6 separate regions of the Homo sapiens genome follow, and regions 1, 2, 4, 5 and 6 are each linked to region 3. Evidence: promoter capture Hi-C in human tissues and cell types (Jung and others, 2019). All regions are on one chromosome and are shown on one strand. The core of a region is centred on a gene start or on the middle of the fragment in contact, and the rest is flanking DNA. Distances in the headings are between cores, read along the strand shown. Region 1 overlaps NUMA1 (nuclear mitotic apparatus protein 1). Region 2 overlaps FAM168A (family with sequence similarity 168 member A). Region 3 holds the start of STARD10 (StAR related lipid transfer domain containing 10). Region 4 overlaps ARHGEF17 (Rho guanine nucleotide exchange factor 17). Region 5 overlaps ARHGEF17 (Rho guanine nucleotide exchange factor 17). Region 6 holds the start of ARHGEF17 (Rho guanine nucleotide exchange factor 17).

Evidence for each region. The method cuts DNA at HindIII sites, captures the fragments that hold promoters and counts their contacts. A contact is called where the count stands out against the background at its distance.
Region 1: a contact is called between a fragment that was not itself captured here and the fragment with the promoter of STARD10 in region 3, in 2 of the 25 tissues and cell types used here (dorsolateral prefrontal cortex and pancreas).
Region 2: a contact is called between a fragment that was not itself captured here and the fragment with the promoter of STARD10 in region 3, in 2 of the 25 tissues and cell types used here (heart right ventricle and lymphoblastoid cells).
Region 4: a contact is called between a fragment that was not itself captured here and the fragment with the promoter of STARD10 in region 3, in 4 of the 25 tissues and cell types used here (H1 embryonic stem cells, liver, mesenchymal stem cells and 1 more).
Region 5: a fragment that was not itself captured here is called in contact with the fragment with the promoter of STARD10 in region 3 in 2 of the 25 tissues and cell types used here (adrenal gland and dorsolateral prefrontal cortex).
Region 6: a contact is called between the fragment with the promoter of ARHGEF17 here and the fragment with the promoter of STARD10 in region 3, in 5 of the 25 tissues and cell types used here (lymphoblastoid cells, mesenchymal stem cells, mesendoderm cells and 2 more).

The regions. Positions count from the first base shown.
Region 1 is chr11:72,029,256-72,031,955 of GRCh38, reverse strand. It overlaps NUMA1 (nuclear mitotic apparatus protein 1), which reads left to right. Exons shown (of 27, transcript NM_006185.4): 4 at 2,666-2,700. Among named protein-coding and RNA genes, the nearest start is that of NUMA1-AS1, 16 kb to the right of the region's middle. The HindIII fragment of the contact is 4,468 bases long and covers 1-2,700 here.
Region 2 is chr11:73,531,981-73,534,680 of GRCh38, reverse strand. The region is part of intron 1 of FAM168A (family with sequence similarity 168 member A); the gene reads left to right. Among named protein-coding and RNA genes, the nearest start is that of FAM168A, 65 kb to the left of the region's middle. The HindIII fragment of the contact is 5,334 bases long and covers 1-2,700 here.
Region 3 is chr11:72,792,761-72,795,460 of GRCh38, reverse strand. STARD10 (StAR related lipid transfer domain containing 10) reads left to right here and starts at 1,414. Exons shown (of 7, transcript NM_006645.3): 1 at 1,414-2,586. RefSeq lists an enhancer at 1,089-1,658. The HindIII fragment of the contact is 19,379 bases long and covers 1-2,700 here.
Region 4 is chr11:73,326,569-73,329,268 of GRCh38, reverse strand. All of the region lies in intron 1 of ARHGEF17 (Rho guanine nucleotide exchange factor 17), which reads right to left. Among named protein-coding and RNA genes, the nearest start is that of ARHGEF17-AS1, 19 kb to the right of the region's middle. The HindIII fragment of the contact is 4,464 bases long and covers 1-2,700 here.
Region 5 is chr11:73,346,766-73,349,465 of GRCh38, reverse strand. It overlaps ARHGEF17 (Rho guanine nucleotide exchange factor 17), which reads right to left. Exons shown (of 21, transcript NM_014786.4): 2 at 2,506-2,583. Among named protein-coding and RNA genes, the nearest start is that of RELT, 28 kb to the left of the region's middle. The HindIII fragment of the contact is 8,075 bases long and covers 1-2,700 here.
Region 6 is chr11:73,306,845-73,309,544 of GRCh38, reverse strand. ARHGEF17 (Rho guanine nucleotide exchange factor 17) reads right to left here and starts at 1,269. Exons shown (of 21, transcript NM_014786.4): 1 at 1-1,269. The coding sequence starts at 906. ARHGEF17-AS1 (ARHGEF17 antisense RNA 1) reads left to right here and starts at 184. Exons shown (of 3, transcript NR_147696.1): 1 at 184-873; 2 at 981-1,663; 3 at 1,989-2,034. RefSeq lists enhancers at 1-274, 280-1,157 and silencers at 578-797, 1,028-1,357, 1,758-1,897. The HindIII fragment of the contact is 12,473 bases long and covers 1-2,700 here.

The sequences.
Region 1 (2,700 bases), core at 20-2,519, 760 kb after region 3:
GTCTTGCTATGTTGCCTAGGCTGATCTCAAACTCCTGGCCTCAAGCGATTCTCCCTCCTCGTCCTCCCAAAGCACTGGGATTACAGGCATGAGCCACCACACCTAGCCTAAATGTTGTATTTATTTATTTATTTATTTTTTTGAGACAGGGTCTCAATCCGTTGGCCAGGCTAGAGTGCAGTGGTGTGATCATAGCTCGCTGTAGCCTTGACCTCCCAGGCTCAAGCGATCTTCCCACGTCAGCCTCCCGAGTAGCAGGGACTACGCGAGCATACAGGCGCAAGCCACCTCACCCAGCTAAAAATTTTTTTAAATTATTATTTTGTAGAGCCAGGGTCTCCTTATGTTGCCCAGGCTGGTCTTGAACTCCTGGCCTCAAGCAGTCCTTCCACCTCAGCCTCCCCAAGTGCTGGGATTACAGGCATGGGCCACTGCGCCTGGCCTAAAAGTTGTTTTTAAATGTGAAAGTGTTTAACTCAAATAAATACTATCATGTCTGTAGAGAAATCATTGATTTTTAAAAATCCTCTTAATTCTATAGTGCATGCAGCTAACTTAACTATTAAGAAATACAAATGTTATGTCTACTTCATTATTTTAATTTTATTAACCATAATAGTGCTTTATGTTTATTAGTTTTTCTTTTTTCTTTTTTTTTTTGAGATGTCTCTGTTGCCCAGGCCACAGTGCAGGGACACTATCATAGCTCATTGTAACTTCTCCAGCTCCTGGGCTCAAATGATCCACCTACCTCAGCCTCTTATGTAGGTAGGACTTACAGGCACATGTCACCATGTCCAGCTTGCTTGCTTGCTTATTTATTTATTTAGTAGAGACAAGGTATTGTTATGTTGCCCAGGGTGGTCCTAAACTCCCAGCCTCAAGCAGTCCCCCTACCTCAGCCTCCCAAAGTGCTGGGATTACAGGTGTGAGCCACTGCACCTGGCCTACTTTATATTTTTTAATGTGTTCTTGCATCCATAATCCCATTTGAGCTCACACTGGTCCTTTGAAGTAGATAAAGTAGGGATTCCATCCATTTGGCAAGGGAGGAAACTAGTGCAGAGAGAAATAAAGTTTGTAACAAAGGTTGCTGGCAAGTTTGTGGAGGAGCTGGGCCCAAAGTGTGTATGTACTGGCTCCCAGCCCAAATATAGAGAACACATTTGTAAGCAATAGAATCTAGTTGTCTGCACATAACCACTATGCTGAAGTTCTTTAAAATACCTTGTTTCTTAAAGCAGGCTCAGTCTCTCTCCCCTCTTAGTGTTGAATATGTGAATAATTAACTTAGCAAACCCTTTCTTCCTATAGTAATAAAAACGTAAACTTCAGCCCAGGCTACTTCTGAACTGTAGTGCCTGTGGAATTCATGAGGTTTTCCTGTAGAGGTTGACCATGTATACTTATTGAATAACCTGTGTACCTGATGTGTGTGACCCCTGGTGAATATTCTAGTGGTAAAAACTGATTTAAATGTATGCCTATCTGAAGCCAAAGAATGGGAACAGGCAACTAAATTAGAATTAAGAAGTTTTTCTTTGAAATTCCCAGCTCCTATTCTTTCATCCCCCACCGCCCCCTTTTTTTTTCTTTTCTTTTCTTTTTTTTTTTCCTTTGGAGACAGGGTCTTGCTCTGTCACTCAGGCTAGAGTACAGTGATGCAATCCCAGCTCACTGCAGCCTCGACCTCCCTGGGCTAAGGTGATCCTCCCACCTCAGCCTTCTAAGTAGCTGGGACTACAGGTATGTGCCACCACTCCTGGCTAATTTTTTGTATTTTTTGTAGGACAGGGTTTCACCATGTTGCCCAGGTTGGTCTTGAACTCCTGAGCTCAAGTGATCTTCCCGCCTCAGCCTCCCAAAGTGCTAGGATTACAGGTGTGAGCCACCGCGCTTGGCTCCCTCCACCCCCTTTTTAAAAAATCATCTTGTTCCCCTATTGTTTTTCCCTTCTCCCCTCAGCCAAAGCTTTATGTGTGGAAAGAATAAAAATGTATTAATAAGATTTTATATCTTTGTGGGAGTGTATAGCATATATGTAATATTTAAGTTTTGAATAGATATTTCAAAACTCAAGAGCCACAAAGGGCTATAATATAAAATGTATTAATAAGATTTTATATGTTTGTGGGAGTGTATAGCATATATGTAATATTTAAGTTTTGAATAGATATTTCAAAACTCAAGAGCCACAAAGGACTATAATATAAAAATCCAAGGGATACAGAAACTTATAATGTAAACGTTCAAGAAATACAAAGAGCTATAATACATTCAAGAGCTACAGAGAGTTATAATGTAAGAGCCTTTCTTTTCCCACCTCAGACTCCCTGCTGTCAAGTTCCTCTCTTTAGAAGCAGTGGTAGTACCAATTTATTGGTGTATCCTTCCAAAATACTCCCAGTGCTGGAACATCTTAGGAAAGTTTAAGCTTTTATTTAGTTGAAGCCAAAGGAAGGGCTCTCTGATGGTTGCATTTCAGGTGGCTGTAACTGGATGAGTGAGTGCAACGGCACTCCTTCCTGAAATTAAAAACCTGAGAATCATCAGTTCTTGTATTCCTATAGTCTACAACTGTAAGCACTCACATTAAGCCTCTGGGAAAAGGAGCAAACCATGTTGCTTCTAACGGTCTCACTAGGCTGTTCCCTTTGATTTACAGGTGAACAGTCTACACGTGGCTGACCCTGTGGAGGC
Region 2 (2,700 bases), core at 114-2,613, 740 kb before region 3:
CTGTAATCCCAGCACTTTGGGAGGCTGAGGGGGCCAGATCACCTGAGGTCAGGAGTTCGAGACCAGCCTGGCCAACATGACGAAACCCCGTCTCTACTAAAAATACAAAAATTTTCCAGGCGTGGTGGTGGGCTCCTGTAATCCCAGTTACTCGGGAGGCTGAGGGAGGAGAATTGCTTGAACCCAGGAGGTGGAGGTTGCAGTGAACTGCGATCGCACCATTGCGCTCCAGCCTGGGTGACAGAGTGAGACTCCGTCTCAAAAAAAAAAAAATAAATAAATAAAAATAAAAAATGAAAGAAAGAAATACATGATACTGCCAGTTTCTGAGCCTTGTGTGGCTTCTACAGGTAAAATTGAGTTAGTTTTTGTTTTTTCCCACTGCTGACTTAGTATTCATTTTCCTTGGATCTAATAAGTCAGTTTCTGCTCATCCATCTGCTTTCTAGCTTTCAGTATTTTATGGCTATTGCTCGTCTCCATTTCTCTTTGTTTTTATGGTTTTACACTTCATTTAAAATCCAAAAGTAGGGTCTAAGGAGAGGACATTTATTCAGTTTATCAACTCTATGAAGATGTCTGTATCAGCATTTCATTCCCTGTTTGACAGGTGAAGAAATCATGTATTACCATGTTTGAAGGTAGCTATTTGCACTGGGAAGAGTATGGGCTTTTGATTCTGAGAGGCTTGGGTTTTGAATCTATTGCTTAACAAGCTGTGTGACCTTAGGGCACTTATTCATAATTCCACCAATAAATTTTTATGTCCATTAGCAAATTAGGTAGAGGCACCCACCAGATGACTAACTTACCTTGACAGTTGATGCTTTATTCATTTAAGCACTCCCCCCAAAAGTTTACTGTTTTGAGTGAATTTTCTCCCTAAAAACATTATATATTACCCTCTTCAGAATAGTCAGAACATTATTGAATCTTTCTTGAGGTTCAAGTTAATTATTTTGAACATCAGCTAGTCTGCTTTTTTATGTTACAGTAATACATTTTATACTAAATACCCTAATACTGTACTTTAAAACAAAAAAGCTAAAAGCCACTTTTTGGTGTGAATACTATGCTTTTTAGATTTTTGTGGTTGTTTTGAATTTTTTTTTTGGCCTTTTCTCCTTGCTGTTGGTGAAACACAACAGAGAATATGGTTCTCCTTTCTTACTTGGTCACTTTTCTCCTACTCTGTGTGGTGCTCCCAAATTACGGTTTATTAGATGTGTTTTCAAAGGAAGAGTAAGGCCCTAGGGACTCTACTAGTAGTAAAGTGTGAAGAATTAAAGACAGTTATTTTGGCTTTAGAGAGACCTTTTTTGCTTGCTTCCTAGTTCTCTGTGTGTTCCAGAAAGACAAGGTAATTGGGTTGCTGAATTCCACGTAAGTGACATATTATAATGAAACTTCATGATTTCTCAAATAAATTGCTTTCATCTATATTATCTCATTTTTTAAAGCTTCATAATGATTCTATAAGGTAAGTAGGGCAGGTGGGATTATCCCCATTTTATAGATTGGACAATCTGAAGTTCAGAGAATTAAATGCCTTGCTCTATCACATAATTGAGTGGTAAGCTGGGACTAATCTCAGGTTGTCTGATTCGAACCTTACTGCTCTGTCGTTTCTCTGTTCTAGCCTTTGTATATGGACTTCTACAGAGAAGGTCAAATTCTTAAGGTCAGAGAGCAATGCAGTAAGGAATACTTCTCATTTGATCCTGTAGTAGCCTGGTGGGACAGGTAGCATTTTTCCTCTTTCCCAGCTGAAAATTGAAGTTCAGAGAGATTAAATGACTTGTCCAAGTTCACCTGAAAAAATAAGGCATGACAGTGTCTGGGACTCATTCTCTTCTTTTGACTCCAACTCCTGCTCTCTGATTGCGGTGCATGATGCATCCGCCCTAAGTCAGAATGAGCTGCCAAAAGAAAAAATATGCCACCAACATTGAAATTTAGATAGCAATGGTTTGAACTGTAGTAAACAACCAAGTCCTCTTCTCTGGGAAGGTTTCAGCTGATTGGAATTCTCAGTCTATTTTCCAATTTATGTAGAGGAGGAGGATAAAGAACTGTTGTGTTTGGACTTGCAAAAAACTGATTCCTTTAGTGGAAGCTCTAAAGATATACAGTTGCATTGCTGGTTTGGCACAAAGAAATACTTAAGCTCTCAAGTACAAATATTTACTGAATTTCTAGTACAGCCTAATGTTCTAGACCCCAGGAAGGATTTGTCATGAATTGGGAAATCTTAGGGCTCCAGGATCCATTCATTCTTAGGCTTAAAGGCTGAGTTTATCCAGGCAATTCAGTAGAGCAATTTTATATACATTACTCCTGCGGTGTACTAGGAATAATAACAGGCACTGGGCAGGGGTGGGGTAGGTATATGTCCTGATAAGAATCTCATGGTTTGTTTGGAAAGAGACACACAAATAATTACATTACAGCATAATAAGTTATAATGAGAGATGTATAAAGAGCACTAAACAGATAATCATTAATTTTGCCCAGATCAAGGGTGCAGGGAATGACTGGAGAAAAGTTTACAGTGAAAGTAATACTTGGGGCCAGGCATGGTGGCTCATGCCTGTGATCTAAACACTTTGGGAGGCCAAGGAGGGTAGACTGCTTGAGTCCAGGAGCTTGAGACCAGCCTGGGCAACATGGTGAAAATCTTTCTCTACCAAAAAAAAAAAA
Region 3 (2,700 bases), core at 165-2,664:
TTGCAAACTGAAAAGAGACACTCTCCTGTAGGTACCAAAGGTGCTCTCTCTTTGTATAGGGAAAAGGCAGGCTGGTTGTTTTTTGTTTTTGTTTTTTGAGACGGAGTCTCGCTCAGTCGCCCAGGCTGGAATGCAGTGGTGCGATCTCGGCTCACTGCAACCTCCACCTCCCAGGTTCATGCCATTCTCCTGCCTCAGCCTCCCGAGTAGCTGGGACTACAGGCGCCCGCCACCACACCCAGCTAATTTTTTTGTATTTTTAGTAGAGACGGGGTTTCACCATGTTAGCCAGGATGGTCTCAATCTTCTGACCTCGTGATCCGCCCGTCTTGGCCTCCCAAAGTGCTGGGATTACAGGCGTGAGCCACCACTCCCGGCCTAGGCTGGTTTATGACTCACAGGGTCTGTATTTCACAATAATCATACATATTCAGCAGGTTTTGGGGAAAAGCTATACATATTTATGAGGGGATGTGAGTGCATGCACAATGGGTAAACACCTGTAACATATGTTCCATGTTCACTTTGGGATGGGGTTTTTGCGTTAAAGTGAGGTGGAATTTGGTTCTTTGCATCATAAGGTGGACTATAGGACACAAACACAGTTTGCGTGCAGTCTCTATGAGCTTGCTGAAACTGGCCTGAGGTCTGCAGTTACTTATCAGGAAAGAATGTTTGTAAGGCCTGTCCTCTGTCGATCAGCGTTGTAGTGGTCTGAGTTGTAAATCTCAGTAAAGAAGAGTCTGACAATTTGCATGATAGCTCCTATTGCTAGGGGTTTAGTAAGAGTGTGGTTTTTCTGGCAGCAGTAGAAATTTAAGAAGTTGCCATGCCAGCTGACAGCTGAGCCCTGAGGTAGGCAACGTTTGTTTCCTTAACCTTAACCTTAAGGTCCATCGTAGTTGATAAAAAGGCATCTGGCCAGGCCTGATGGCTCACGCCTATAATCCCAGCACTTTGGGAGGGTGAGGCGGGAGGCCAGCAGTTCTGGGGCCACTGCACTCCAGCCTGACAGACAGAGACCCTGTCTCAAAAAATAAATAAATAAAAAAGATAAAGGGGCATTTGTCTTGATCGCTCAGATCACACAACTAATAAGTAGCATTCTTTCTAAAAGCCGCAACAATGCTACTCCTCTCTTATAAGAGCTACTGTGTAACTCCTGCCCAACTCAAACCCACAGGCCCAGGCTCAGAACACTTGGCTCCATTGCTTCACTGTTTCCCTGCTAGCACGAACCCCCCAAACTCCATCTCCCAACATGCCGCGGGCCCCCTTTCTGTCAGCCTGACTCTTGAGCTCCTGAGAAATGTAGTTTTTCCAGCGGCCCAGCCCCAGAAAGGTCCTAGCCAAGAACTACAGTTCCCATGTGGCAATGCGCGCGCCATTCCGGTGGAATTCACCGCGGTCTCCAGTTTGCCATGATGGATGCCAGAACCTGCACGTGGGGCTTGGTGACGCGATGACTGAGATGCTGGAGTCCCCGGTCAGAAGGACGATGCCGAGCGCGCCGTATTTTCTCCTGCCTCTCCTCAGATCGCCGCCGTTGTTGGGCTGTGGAGACGTCTCAACCAAAGTGGAGCCGACAGAGGCCCCGGGAGCCGTGGTGACAGAGCGGCCACAACCACTAGGGGGCGGGAGGCAGAGCGGCCCCTAGTCCGCCCCTAGTCCGGGACCTCTGGGCGGTCCCGGGCGGGAAGCGCACGCGCAAACGCGGGGCTTCGCGGCCGCTGTAAACACCAAAGAGCGCCTGCGCAAGCCGAGAGTCTCGGGATCGACACGTGGGGGCGCCTGAGCGAAGATAACCGTAATAAATAGTAACCTAACGGTCCAGTCATCGTTCTGTGGTCCTTTCTTTTATGATTCACAAGGAATGACCCTCTTCATCGCCTCTCCTAATTCAGTCCTCACAACAGTCCTTTTACAAATGGGACAACAGGTTAGAGGAAGTCAGGCAGATTTCCAGCATCATAGAGAGTAAAGGACCAGGGAAGGATCAGGATTCAAGGACTGCACCCAGGCTCTGCTTCCAGCTTGCTGTGTGACTTTGGGTAATTTTGTTCCCTTAGGGAACTGAGCTTTCTCATTTGTAAATGCAAACAGGCTGTTGGGAGGATCAAATGAGATCCAGGGGTGAAAACAGCTTAGTTTACTTTCAGGAATTTACCCACGCGGTATATAAAGGCAAAATATTATTATAGTCAGGTGATTGTAGATTGAGGAACCCATTTCCTCATTCTGCAAATTGCAAACCTGAGGGCCCAAAGAGGGACAGGGGCTTGCCCCAGGTCTCAGCAGGCTGTGAGCAAGAGCTAAAGCCTAATCCTCCTGCCTTTGGGCCTGGAGCCCTTCCTTGTACCCCAGGGGTCAGTGTCTTTGTTGGATACAGGCTTAGATTGACTGACTGTACCCTGAGAACCTAGGGGAGTCCCTGTTCCCAATTCTTCTCCTACCCCCACCTTGGCCTGATGGAGGAAGACCCTGCTGTGTTGAGATGAGCACCAGAGCCAAGAAGCTGAGGAGGATCTGGAGAATTCTGGAGGAAGAGGAGAGTGTTGCTGGAGCTGTACAGACCCTGCTTCTCAGGTCAGTGGCCCAAGTAAGGGAAAGAACCCAGGTGTGACAGATGAGGGGGCAGCACTAAGGGGACAGACTCTGAATGGAAAGGAGTGGGAAGGCAGTGGACACTGTTTCTGAGCT
Region 4 (2,700 bases), core at 197-2,696, 530 kb before region 3:
GAGCAAGGGGCAAAGCGGTGTGCTACCATCTGTGTGCAGGAAGGGAACAGATGATGAATTTGCTGGTGTTTGCAGATAAAAGGATTCACAAAGACACTACTAGCTGGGTGGCCTGGGGTCAGGCAGGGTAGGAAATAGGCAGCCAGGTGGGAAGGAGACTTTTTATCCTTTTGGATTTTTCCTAACCATGTGAATATATCATCTATTCAAAATATTAAATATATAAATTTAATTTAAAAAATTCACCTTGCAATCAGGCCCCTGCTGCCCACTCCAGCCTCACGTCTCATCTCTGAACAGCCTTTGCACCCCTCTTCTTCCTTCTCCATCCTGCCTCTCTAGGCTCCCTCCATGACTCTCTCTCCTAGACCTTCTGGGCTCCCCTGGCCTCGGAGTATCTCTGCCCCAGCCCGGACCCTGCCCTGGTGACACAGGCCTGATGTTCCTGTCTCAGTCTGTGCCTCCTCATAGCTGGGGCACCACCTGTGTTCCCAGCCTACATACAGAGGACGAGGTTCCCACTGAATGAAGACTGCACCAGAGAACAGGGGGCACTGCCTTGGAGCCCCAAGTTTGGAGCCTTTGTCTTTGCTTTCCCTCTTCTGTTTCCACATTGGTCTCCTCTGGGACAGTTCCAGTCTCACATGTGGTGTTCCTCCAGGAAGCCCTCCCTGCCCAAATCACATTCAGACTGGGGTAGAACTGTCCAATTCCTCCTTCAAGCCAAACGCTCAACCCCTGCCTTGGGTAGAGCGACCTCAGGGCTGGGCTTTGAGCTTCAAAGTGAGTCCCCAGCCTGGAGGAAGGTCCTGGGGTCAGAAGTCACTGGGTGACTCTGGCAACCCTGCCCCTCTCTGGGCCCCCATCTGTATGGCAAGGAACACAGACCAGCTGCTCCAGAGTCAGTGATGGGCAACTTTAAAGCAAGGTGGGGATTTCTGCTAGCAAAACTCCGGCAGAGCCCCCAGCCTGCAGAGTCCCATCCCTCCTGCATAGCCCCACTCTTTTCCTTTGGACAGCTGCCCGTGGGGAACTCCAAGCCTCCCTCAGGGAGCTCAGCTCATCCCCCTACCAAAGAGGATTACCTGGGCTACTCTCAGTGACCCCATCCTCTTCTCTCCATCCCTGGGGCTCTTCCTCAGCCAGCTAGGTCACTTCCCTCCCTCCCTTCCAACTTGTTTTACGGCTTCCCACTGATCCCCAGTGGTCTGTGGTCCAGCCCAGCCACCACAGACATAATCACATCAAATTCTCACCATAACCCTATAATAGGTGCCATCATCATCATCCCCATTTTACAGGTACATAAACTGAGCCACAGAGGGACTAAGTACTAACACGTGAGTACTCAGCTTTTCCAATGAATAATTACCCAGGACTATCCACAAAACTAAGAGGAAGAGCAGGATTTGAAGAAAGCCATCTGGCTTCAGTCTGTTCTAACCATTACACTAACCCAGCTGAATGTAAGATCAAGTACTTGTCCCCCGAGAGTCTCAATGACCTGGCCCTTGCTGACTCACCAGCATCAAATTTCCCCACCTTTACCACGGTCTGGCTGCATCATGTTCTGGCCACAGTAGTTCCTCCAACCCATCGCATTGTTACACCCTGGGCCCTTTGCACATGCTGGTCTCTCTGCCAGGTGTGGCTTCCTATGTCTATGTTTGGCAACTTCCTACTCATTCTACATTTTTCGTGGCCAAAGAAGTGGGAGCTTAGGCTGTATGGTGGACCAGGCAGGCTGGTCTACTAAGCGGGGCAAGGCCTAGGTCCTGAAGGGCCTCAGACCTGCCAGCCTCAGAGCTCAGTCTTTCTCCTGCCAACACTTGTTCATACTCTTCCTTTTACACACTACAAACTCTGGGGAATTCCTTCCTGATTCTAACCTAATTCACTCATCCTACAGGAGTCAGGACGATTCCTGGACCTCTAGAGAATGTGCTCCTGCCTGTCCACTGTCAGTGTGACTGAGCTGGGCTGAGACAGGGTGCACATTCTGGGAGCGTAGCTGGTTGCCAGCTCCTACCTCCCTCAAAGGGCCTGTGTCCTTCCAGGTGTCAGCAGGGGGCAGGCAGGATTTTCCCACCACTCCAACAGTTTGTCCTTCTGATCAAGTGGGGCCCAGCCAGCTCCAGGCCCCGGGTGGGAGGTGCTGCCTGCTCATAGGAGCACCAAGGATGGGTGGTATGCTCCATCATCCTGGCTGCGTCTGGAGACCTGGCCCCCAACAGAGTTTACCCCTGCCCAGGGAGCCTGGCTGGTTGCCCTTCTGAGCCTGCAGAGACACTGAAGGGAGAGGCTTGTCTCACTCTAACGCCTCCCATCAGGGAGGGCTTCCCTCTTTCCACAACAGAGATTTCCTGACTGAGTCCTGAAAGCTCCATGGAAATACATGGCGTGAGATGTGGTCCAGGGGGCAGACATGACCCTACTTTCACTTAAATCAATGAGATCAGCCTGCTTTATACTTCTGTGTCAAGATTCCTCTAGAAGAAAAGGTTCCACTATTTTTATTTTTATTCATTTATTTATTTTTTAATTTTTTGAGACGGAGTTTCACTCTTGGTTGCCCAGGTTGGAGTGCAATGTGCAATCTCGGTGCACTGCAACCTCTACCTCCTGGGTTCAAGCGATTCTCCTGCCTCAGCCTCCCGAGTAGCTGGAATTACAGGCGTATGCCACCAGGCCCAGCTAATT
Region 5 (2,700 bases), core at 31-2,530, 550 kb before region 3:
TTTTTGTATTTCTAGTAGAGATGAGGTTTCACCACGTTGGCTAGGCTGGTCTTGAACTCCTGACCTCAGGTGATCCGCCTACCTCAGCCTCCCAAAGTGCTGGGATTAGAGGTGTGAGCCTCCGCGCCTGGCTCACCTTTAAGTCTTCTTGATGGGAGATAGGTAGATTAGCTACATTTTGCAGGCAAACTTGAGGCTCAGAGAAGGTGAGGTGATTAGGCTAGTATCACCCAGTGAGGACGCACGTGACTTCAACCCTGGACTGTCTGACCCTAATGCCTCCAACTCTCATCTAGGGGATGGCAAAGGACCCCCTCAGGCCCCTGCCATGTCTACTCCTCCTGCCTGGCATTCTGGCTGCATCCTCCCATGGCTTCCTTGCGTGCACAGGAAAGCCCAGCTCCATGCCCAGCAGCCTTCCTTCCTGCAGCCACCTGGCCACCTCTGGTTCCCTGCTGCTCTAGGTTCCTTCCAGCCTCCTGGCCTTTGTCCCTGACATACCCTCTGCTGGGAGCCATCCCTCCGGGCTCTTTCTGCTGAAATCTACTCACCCTTCAGGTCTCAGCTAAATACCCCAACCCCAGGGAAGCCCTCCCTGACCCCGACACCAGGGTAGGCCCCCTTCTGTGTTCTCATCTCCCCATGCACTTTTTAAAAACAATAAACAAACGCATTGTATTTTATGGTAAAATACATATAATATAAAATTTACCATTTTAAATGTACAGTTCAATGGTATTAAATACATTCATAATGTGTGACCATCCAGCTCTAAAACTCTTTTTATCCTGTAAAACTGCAACCCTGTACACCCATTAAATAGTAACTCCCCATTCCCTCCTTTCCCAGCCTGGCACCCTTTCCCTGGCACCCACCATCCTACCTTCCATCTCTGAGTCTGACTACCCCAGGAACCTCATGCAAGTGGAATCAGACAGTGCTTGTCCTTTGAGACTGGCTTCTTTCACTTGGCATCATGTCCTCCAGGCTCATCCATGTTGTAGGATGTCAGAATTTCCCTCCTTTTAAGGCGTATCCCTGTTGTGTGTAGGTTCTCTGTGTGTGCACTTCTGCATCACCACATGCCACTGTGTGTTGATGTCTGGCTGGTCACTGTCAGTCTCTGCCATAGACCGTGAGCTCCAGGAGACAGGCCCTTACCACTAATGCCCCTGCACAGAGAACACTACCTGGAGCGCAGAAGGGGCTCACCGTGGATTTGTGGAGTGAGTGAATGAATGAATGAATGGTGAGTGAGTGAATGCTCTGGATGTTTCCATAGGGTGAAGGTTCTACCTTTACCCTTTGCTGTCACTCTGCCCAGCTAGCTTGGGCAAATTCATCCTCAATGGTGACTGCCAGGCCCCACTTCAGCTCAGGTCCACACTCATCCAGCCCCAGGCCATGTGTGCATCCAGGCTGTGGGCCTTCCCAGGTTCATGTCTGAGCCTGAACTCACCACCTTGCTCCAGTTGTGCTTCTCCCCTGGGCCCCACCTATCCGAGGCCAGGAGCCCAGACATCATCTTGGGCTTCCCCACCTTGCCCCCCACAACCAACCAGTTACCACGCCTGGCCTGACCAGTCCACTTCCTGAGTGTCTGTCCCCAGCACTCCCTTCCTGTAACCTCTATCCTTGCCGGATCTCAATGGCCTTGACCTCCTCTTCTGCCACCCACCTTCCCAGCTGTCAGACAGACTTCATGAAGCATGAATCAGGCCACACACCTCCCCTGCTCAAAGCCCTTCGCTGATCATCCACGGACCCTGGCAGAATCTACTGCCTCCAACTGGTGTTCTAGGCCCCCACAGCGTGGCCTCTGCCGACTCCGACAGCATAGCTATGGGACCAGCGCGTTGTGCTCTGTGCTGGCCACGTAGACCTCCGAATGTGCCAGGCCTCACTTGGCTTTGCAATGTGCTATTCCTGCTGTTGAGAAGACAGGTCATGGTGGAAGTGAGCACCTCCTCCAGGAAACCTCCCTGACCCCACGCTTAGCAGGTGCCCCTCGATGTTTCTAGAGTGCCCGTATACTCCACTACGTACTCAGCAGGGCGGTGAGCTCCTGTGGCAGGGGCTGGGCTCTCTTATTCATTCCTGTGTCTCCTGCACCTGGAACAGGGCCTGCACACAGCAGGTGCTCAATACTGAACTCTATTCAACTCATACTTCCCAGTCAGTGAATACAATGGAGGCGGCACATCAGAGGGAGTTCACGGATCTAAGTTCAGGGTCAGGGTTGCCAGGGGGACGTGGAAGAACAGCAGGGTAGGGACGCCTGCCCTGGGGTGGCCTGGCCCCTCTGCATTCTCTCTTGCCCGGGAGAAGCCTTCCTCCTTCTCTGGAATGGCCATGCTGGGGGTTCTTCATGGAAAGGCGACGGATGCCAGGGACACGGCTCTCTGGCCTCAGTCCCTTGTCCATGAAAGGGGTTTGCTCACACCCATCTGACAGCCTCCTAGGCTCAGAAAGGCCATTCTCAGGGGAGTGGGCCCCGAGCCCCACCTGCATCAGGGTGCGCAGCGACTCCACATACGACTGCTCTGTGTCCAGCAGGGTCATGGCCACGTGCTTCCGCATGTCCTGTGGGGACAGGAGCAGAGGGTGAACAGGGGTCTTTTTCCCCCCAGACCCCATCACCTGTAGCCACATGGTGCCCAGAGAACCCGCCCACACCCTCTCCCTGCCCTCCTGGCCCTT
Region 6 (2,700 bases), core at 20-2,519, 510 kb before region 3:
CAATAGGGAGCTTCCAGGCCTGAGCCCGGGCCTCCCTCCCCAGCGGTGGCCGCCCTCACCGTCTCGGTCGTCGTCACTGCCCGAGGAGTGGCCGCCGTGGTAGGCCGGACTCTGGGCTCCAGGCAGCTGCGGCGGGCCCTCCTCTTCCTCCTCGCTGGAGCTGGCAGCACGACTGCGGCTGACAGGATAGGAGGCGGCGATGGAGGAGGAGGAGCAGGAGGCCCGGGCCCCGGCCTGCGGTTGGGAGAAGATATGCCAAGAATGTAAACCATCCGCTGGACGCTGCGCCCGCTCCTGTTGCTGCTGCGGCCGGCGCAGCCTCCCTTCGGTCTCCGGCCCGGTCAGGGGCCGCGCCGAACGCAGACCCGCCAGGGGGAAGCATGTCCGAGGGGGTGGCGTCGGTGGCTGCCGCGACTCCCGAGCCGGAGGCTCCCACGCGGCACCGTCGGGGCTGGGCGTTCCTGGGGATTCAGAGTCGGCGCTGGGCCTCCTGGAGCCAGGACCGCCGAAGAGCTTGCGCATCTCGGTGACGCTGGGCCAGGCTCCTCGCGCTGGGCCCTCGGCCGCTTCTTCCGCGGCCGCGGGTAAGACGCCTCCGTCTCGGGTCCCAGCGGAGCCGTCGTCCAGACGCGGCGCGTCGAAGCGCCGGGAGAGCTGGCGAACCGACGGCGAGAGGCTGCGGAGCGGGCGCGGCTGCGCGGGGGCGGCCAGGGGCCCAGACGCCAGCTTGGACACGCGCCGAGAGGGCTGGCCCCGGGCAGCCGTGGTCGGCCGGCACGAGGCGCGTCGCCTCAAGCCGGGGGTGTCCGTGTCCTCCTCCCTCAGCCCGGGGCCGCCGCTCCAGCGCTCCAGCAGCTTGAACGAGACGCTGCGGTAAAGCTGGGGCCGGGGTGCCCCGTCCGCCATAGTGGCGTAACTCACTCCGGGGGGGCTGGCCTCGGGCAGCCGCGGCCAACCCCCCCTGCGCCCCCACTCCCTAGGAGCGCAGCGGCCCACGCCGAAAGCAGCGCACGGGAGTGTGGGAAGAGGACGCAGAGACCGGAGCAGAGGTTTCTCTGCCGCGGCTCAAGTTTCTGTGGCCACCGGCCGCAACGTCTCCATCCCGGGCGGCCCCTCCCGCCTCAGCGCCGACCCCCAGGCCCAGCCCCCGCCGCGGCTGGAGCGACCAGGGGCACCGCGGCACCGCCTGGGCGGGATCCCAGCGCTTGGTTCCTCGACTCTGCGTCCGCCTGCCCAACGCCCTTGGCTGCTCGCTCCTGGCACCCTTTTGTTGCAAATAAACTTTGCGGCAGAGGCAAGGGGGCGGGGGGCGGGGCCTCGCGCCCAAAAGAGGGGGTGGGCTCCGGGCGTGCGCGAGCCTGGGAACCGCGTGGTGGGAGGGAATCAGGGAGGAGCCGAAGAAGAAAAAGCCTGCTGGAGGACTTGCAGACTGAGGCGACCCTCTGGCCCTCCAGAGAGGTCCCTCGGGAGCCCAGCAGGCCGAGCTGCCCCCAGGGAGTCGCTGAGACACACACAACCGCTGAGCGTGCTCAGCTCCGCAGACTCGCAGCCAGGGCGCCGCGTCCACCGCGGGCCACCAGCCTCCGCGCGGAAACACCTCCTGCCCAGGGGCTCCAACATGGCAACCTCGGACTCACAAACTCTCGTACACACTGACACTCAGGTGCACGCAGACGCACACTCTCTGGGCCGGGAAAGGGGTGGGACTCGGCGCCAGGGAGAGCCCGGGGAGCCGCGGGCTAACTGAAGGGTCCGTCGCGCCCTACTCCCCGCCCAGGCCACGCCTCCTCCCCTTCCCTCCCCCTCCCCGCCCGCCCTCTGCGGCGAATTTAGCTGTAGCCACGCCCTTGTCCCCCCATCTCGCTCCCAAGCGCCCCGCCCATCCCACCTCCCAGCCGCCTGTCCGGCTCCGACCGGCCCCCAACCCGCCCAGCGTTGCTCCAGAAGTCCCACCCTTCACGACCGCGCCCCCACCCCTACTTTTCCAGCTGCCACGCCTTCCACCTGCCCCTGCAGTCTGGCGGCTCTTCTCCTGGACTCTCCGCCTGGATCCCCGAGCCTTTTCTTCTTGCTCTGGAGTACGCGGCTCTTGCGCCCCCTCGCGGCGTGATTTTCCCAACGCACGGAGTCCTGGACGGATAAAGCAGCACCCATCCCCCAAAAACGGAGAGTTGTGAAAACTTCCTTTCAGTCGTTACCTAATCCCCTTAGTCTTTTTCAGACCTTCGCAAAGCGCACTGCCCCTTCTTAGGCCTTATACACAAAAGGAGCTTCGACGGGAACGCCCTCGACTTCCCACTGCCAAACCTATACTCTTACCCGCAGCTGCTTCACCTTCTTGGCAGGAAAAGTGTCGGTTGTTTCTCTGGCTTCACGCTGATCCCTCGCTTGAGCTCCCCTCCCGCCCCTGCCTCCGTCTGAGTCTCACATTGTTCTCGGTATTGGGGCATCATCCCCTTCCGCATTCCCACCTGCCTCTAGATCCCATTCATCCTCCCGGCCCAACTAACGAATGAACGAACGAATGAAAATGTATGGAGTACCTATAATGTATGGGCAATATTATTTAACTTATTTTTTAAAATCCACAAACCACCCTTGGGGACAAATATTATTACCCCTTCTCTGTGGACCGTGAAGGAGAAGTAACTTTGACCACTATGCAAGTCAGGAAATAGCAGCTCCTGCTAAAATTCAGAT